Linked DNA regions of Homo sapiens: region 2 is linked to region 1. Evidence: promoter capture Hi-C in human tissues and cell types (Jung and others, 2019). All regions are on one chromosome and are shown on one strand. The core of a region is centred on a gene start or on the middle of the fragment in contact, and the rest is flanking DNA. Distances in the headings are between cores, read along the strand shown.

Region 1 (2,700 bases), core at 185-2,684:
AGAGGGGGATGCCGCTTCTCTCTCTTCTCCCCCTCCCTCCCGGAGCCCAAGGCAGACGTGACGAAACCCGCGGGGTCCCCCCCGAAGCCCCAACAGCCGAGATAATTGAAACAAGAAACCCCCTTAGTAAGGGGGCGGGGGGTGGGCCCTCCCTCCCTCCTCCCGCCACGCCCGAGTTCCTGGAGATCAGAGCTGCCTCGCCGCGGCTCTGACACCTGTTTGCTTTTTCCCTCCTTTCCTTCCGGGTGCACTAGCACCTGGGCTTACGTTTGTTTTTCTACCCTGGGGCTCTCAACTTCCCTTCCACACTCCACCTCCCTTGCAGAGTTTTCTATAAAGTTCGGGCTCTGGGTGTCCCCTTGCACTCCCCACAGGGCTGTGCCGCAGGCTTGGGCGACTTTCCCCGCAGAACGTTGGCCGAGAGGGAGTCCCCGCGGGGGGGGCCAGGGGGGAGGACTGGGAGAGACCACTTTCGTTTTCTGAGACGCCTTCAGTTCCTGGCCGTCCGCCAGGCTTTCTTCTTGGAGGTGTCAGTCTTCGGGAGTGGGGGCTGGGGAAAGGGGGGCAGGCTAGGGGATTTGTGTTTGAAGCTATTTTTGGAAGGCAGCCTTACTGTTTTTACTTACGTGGTATTTTGCAAATTAATAAAAATAGCAAACTTTTCTAGAAATGCTTTATTCACATTTTACCGGAGAATGGGAAACCATCCATTGTCCGTTCAAAAGGCTATTTTTTTAAAGTTTGGGATGGCTTGGGGAGGCCAATGGCAATTTGGGGAGAAGGGCTGAAGCACCCCTTTTTGGAGCTCGGGGCCAGTTTCCCGGACTAAAAGACCCTGGTGACTGGGGATGGGCCTCACAACTAACTCGGGCTGCCCTGCCCCTGTCGCGTGGGCTCGCAATGGCAAGTGCTCCGGAAGGGGGCCGCCTCCCCGTGGGGCTCCTGGCTGCCTCTGCTCCCTTGGACACCACTGGGGGGCCTCCCCCTCCTAAGTTCTAGGTTGAGGCCGGATACCTGCCCCGACCTGTCTCCTCCCTTTCTCCAATACCACACCCACGGGACTCCAGTCTCCCCGGGAGTGGGACGGAGAGGGAACAAAGGGGTCTTTGTTCACTGGCTCCCGGGGCGTGGGAGTTGCGCTCGCTCTCCTTTCCCGGCGTCCCGTGGAGACCGGGAGGCTCAGCGCCTCTCCCAGCTCTCAGCGCCGCCCTCCCAGACCCCAGAGACGTCGGTCAGGGCGCGGCGCCCCGGGCCACTGCGGGCTCTTTCCGGGCGGGCGACGTGGGGGGCGAGGCACCGCGCGGCGGCGCCTGGCGGGCACTGTTGCCCGCGGAGGGACGGTGGGGGGGTTTCAGCAGCTGGCGGGGGTGGAGGGGGCGGGAGAGGGAGCCTGCGCCGGGCTGAGCCTGGAGGTGCGGGGCGGGCTCGGGGAGCGCTCTTGGGGCTCCTCCTGCCACAGCCGGGGCGGCTGGAACTCTCTCCCTTTCTCCCTCCATCCTTCCACTTCCCCTGCTCGGCCCCGCCGTCAGGCCGGGTCCCCCTTCCCTGCCGTCATCAGGTTCCCCTTCTCCCTTCTTGGCACTTTCCTTTCGAACCATCCTTCTGGACAAACTTTGATGGAGAATTTCACACCACGCTGGAAAAATGCCGGTTATGAAAGGATTACTGGCGCCGCAAAACACCTTCCTGGACACCATCGCCACCCGTTTTGACGGAACACGTAAGTCTTACACTTGAACGAGTGGTATGGCATTTTCTGAGACTGATTTTTCTCGTACACATTACTTTTGCTCCCACCTTCCCTTTTGCACCAGCGGAGTGAATTTTCTTCTGTTCTTGCCAAGGTATCTTTTGTGCGGAGAAATTTGTTCCCTCATGGTTTGGTGTAGTATTAACACTTTGTATTGGTGTAATAGTTGGCTCTCTTGAGTTCTTGGGTTTGTTAAGGACTGAAACGCAGCCTGAGGAAAGACCGACGCCCGTATTCACTGTGGGACCTGCATTTTGGTGTATCTTTAGGGAATTGGTTGTAATTTTCTGAGGTGAAAAGGGGAATATCGGTGTACCTAATCTTTCTAGAGTTTCAAGGCTCCCTAGATCAAAAGGAGAGCTTGGAGTGTTCTTTCTTGGAGCTTCATTCCGTGATATATTTCGGATAGGTATGATTTTCTATCTGAGTTTAAGAAATGCAGGATTGCCAAGTGTAAGCTTTCTGTAGAATTTTAAGTGTTGTGAGTTTGTCAGAACCTTGATTCCTGCTTTTGAGCTAGAATAGCGTATCTTTTAATCCTTAAATGAGCCTAACACTCAAGCAGAGGCTGTTCAGGAAGAAGGACATGAATAAAGACGATTTGATGATAAGAGAAAGTTTTTAGTTTTTTTTTTTTGAGTACGAATATTATTGGACATTTAGCTCATTTAAGCTACAGTAGGAAAAAAAATAGATAGGATGTTGTGTGGTTGCTAGCAGACGGTTCGTTATCATCTGCAAGTTGTTCTCTTTCAGGACCACGGTCAGGTCCCCACTCCTTCTCAGGCTTTTCAAGCTCTCTACTTGACCCTGTGGATCTTCCTAGCTGGCTTTAACCCTGTAATTAGGAGTCTGTACTACCACCCCTAACAAATGCTCTCAGTTGGTTTCACTACGAATATCCTCATCTTCTTTCTAGCTTATCTTGCTTCTGTGCACTGTCTTCCATT
Region 2 (2,700 bases), core at 115-2,614, 49 kb after region 1:
CTGTTCCTTGGTCCTCCAGCTAAGATCTTTCCTGTGTCCTGGTCTTTTTTCAGTTTGCATCTTCTTCTAGCCTTCTTGCAGATTCTGTAAATCTAATATCTGTCTATCTACTTCCTGAGTATGTTTTGTTCATTTCCTTTTTTAAAAAAATTAAAATAGCCCAAGTTAGTTTATTTTTCTTATAAGAAAGTACTCTGTCTGAAACTCAAAACCCTGTTGCCAAGTCTGGCTTATTGGGCCAGGCTGACATTTCTTTTCTTGTGCCAGATTCTCTTCAAGAGACTCAAGCCTCTCCTTTGTTCAGTTATTGTCTTCCTCTACCACTCCAAAAGTGGCCAGGATACTTGCATATGCCTAAACCTCATAAAAGAAATAGTTCTACTCTTTTTCTGAATCTTCTAGTTCACATATATATTGATAAAAGGATTAGGTACTATTTAGGAGGTGAGGAGAGGAAAAGTGACATCTAATCCCATGTGTTCGGAAGTTTCAAATTTCTGCTCTAATCCAATATCATAGGTATTATCACTTAATGCTCAGCACCAATGTAATGAGATAGGTACTTTTACTCAGTGAAAGACTGAAATGAAAAAAAAAAAGATCTTGGCTTCATTGGAAACCTAGATTTCCTTTAGCACATCCTTCCTGGTTATGTTTATATGGAGGTCTCTGTACTGTTTATTGTCTTTAAAATAATTACAACTCTGTAAACTGTGGAAAGTGGATAGAAGTGCATGTGATTATTGTCTGTGGATGTGTGAATACATCATGCTTGGTGGAGGCTAAATTGACTTCCTTTCTCCGCCGTGGAAGAACCCAGTTTTTAGTCTATTTGTGTGGTTCTCTGGATTCTCCTTTGAGAATCCAAAAAAATCCAACTAGTTGACTGATTATCTTGTTAATTAATAAGTTAAATAAAATGTTTGATACCTATATGCTTTATGTTTGTTTGAGGGATTTTATCTTTTAAAAAATTATCCTTTAACAACTTGATTTTACCAAATAGGAAATATTACACTTTTAGTATCCAGTAATGTAAACATAGCTAATAAATAGCAGAGGTGGAATTTAAATCCAGATTTTCCAACTTCAAATTCAGAATTTCCCAAATTCAGATTTACAGAGGAAAGAAGTGATAGGTAAAACAGGGGTCCTATTACTTCTGTCCAACTCTGTACATTAGTGTTCAAGTAAGCTCATTTTCTCCAATCTGTTGCCTTTGATTTTTGCTTTACAAGCTACTGAAAGATTATTATTCTGAAAAAAATGCTTTATTTCTCTTTGTCCTTCCCCTCAGTGACTTCCATGGTCAGTTAGAAATATTTTGAACTGTTGACTCCAGAATTTAATCCACCCCCAACAATTTTGCCCTCTATACCCTCCAATATTATCTCACAAGCAACACACCTTATTCTTAGTCATCTTTGTTTTCTCGGATTTAGTTTTCTCTGTTATGAGGCCTTCTTGTACTCTGTTTTGCTGAACCTAATAAACCTTGAAAAATCATTTTCAGTGAATTTTTATCTCTCCCATAAAGTTTCCCCAAATCTATCTGGCATTGGAGCCATTGTTGCCTCCTCTAAAAGTTAGCACGTGTCTGTTTAGACATTTAGCAGTTAATATTAACAGTTGTCTTTGGGGTATGTAAGCATTTGTGCATCATGTCCTTAAAGGCAATTTAGTGCAGTAGTTAAGAATACAGGTTTTGGAGCTGGACTTCCTGGCTTCAAATCCCAACTTTGCCACTTCCTTTCTCTACAACCTTGGGCAAGTTATCTAAATTCTCGGTGGTTTGGTTTCTTTATCTCTAGGAAGACCGTGAGAGTTCCTATGTAATTGGATTGTTGTTGGAATTACATAAGTTAATACATGTCGAGTCCTTACAGATATATTTGCTTCAAAGTTGTATAAAATTTTACTGTTATTGTTGATATTATTTCTATTTTACTATTTCTTGGCTTACTTTTTTCCAACTAAATTTTAAGTTATTTGTGGAAAGAAATAATTTTTTAAAATTTGTGCAGTATTTTTTACAAATCTGATGCGTAATCACTGGGTAAAGAGGAGCTATTGACAAATGCTTTTGAGCAGGGTTTTGTGTATCAAAGGCAGTGTTTAAACAGTTTGCAGCAAGGTGTGGGAAAGGTTTTCGGAAAGGTTGGATTAAGGACTGCTGCAATAATTCTAGCATGTTATAATTTTTTATAGGTCTCCAATTGCAAACATTTATTGAGTATTCGTCATGTGCCTGACATAGAGATAAAACCTATTGATTCATAATGGACAAATAACCATTCCAATCTTCAGAGCATTTAACACCCAGTACAGAAAAATTAATAAATGAATAAAGAGGGGCAGTCCATTGCTGAACTTTATGTATAGGGACAGGATGCAGAGGGAGAGTAAGATAGTGGTGGTTTCTTGAAGGAAGTAATGCTTAAGCCTTGAACTGGAGGAGTTGGGTGGTAAAAATGGGGTATTATTCCAACCAAGCAAGTAGAGCAAACAAGGCGGAACCAACATTGCAGTGCAAGACAACCGCAGTGGGTTCAGGTTTGGCTGTGGTACAAAATAAAGCTGGAGAAGTCACAGAGGTCCATCCTGCCGTTTAAAAAAAAGATTTGGACCCTTTCCTACAGCCAATAGAGAATGTGTGCAGATTTGAGTTTCTAAAATAAGTCATCAATAACTTTTTCAGAC

What was found. The method cuts DNA at HindIII sites, captures the fragments that hold promoters and counts their contacts. A contact is called where the count stands out against the background at its distance.
Region 2: a contact is called between a fragment that was not itself captured here and the fragment with the promoter of KCNH8 in region 1, in 1 of the 25 tissues and cell types used here (dorsolateral prefrontal cortex).

Annotation. Positions count from the first base shown.
Region 1 is chr3:19,147,076-19,149,775 of GRCh38, forward strand. It overlaps KCNH8 (potassium voltage-gated channel subfamily H member 8), which reads left to right and starts at 1,435. Exons shown (of 16, transcript NM_144633.3): 1 at 1,435-1,720. The coding sequence starts at 1,645. RefSeq lists enhancers at 1-283, 284-877. The HindIII fragment of the contact is 8,005 bases long and covers 1-2,700 here.
Region 2 is chr3:19,195,873-19,198,572 of GRCh38, forward strand. All of the region lies in intron 1 of KCNH8 (potassium voltage-gated channel subfamily H member 8), which reads left to right. Among named protein-coding and RNA genes, the nearest start is that of KCNH8, 49 kb to the left of the region's middle. The HindIII fragment of the contact is 6,856 bases long and covers 1-2,700 here.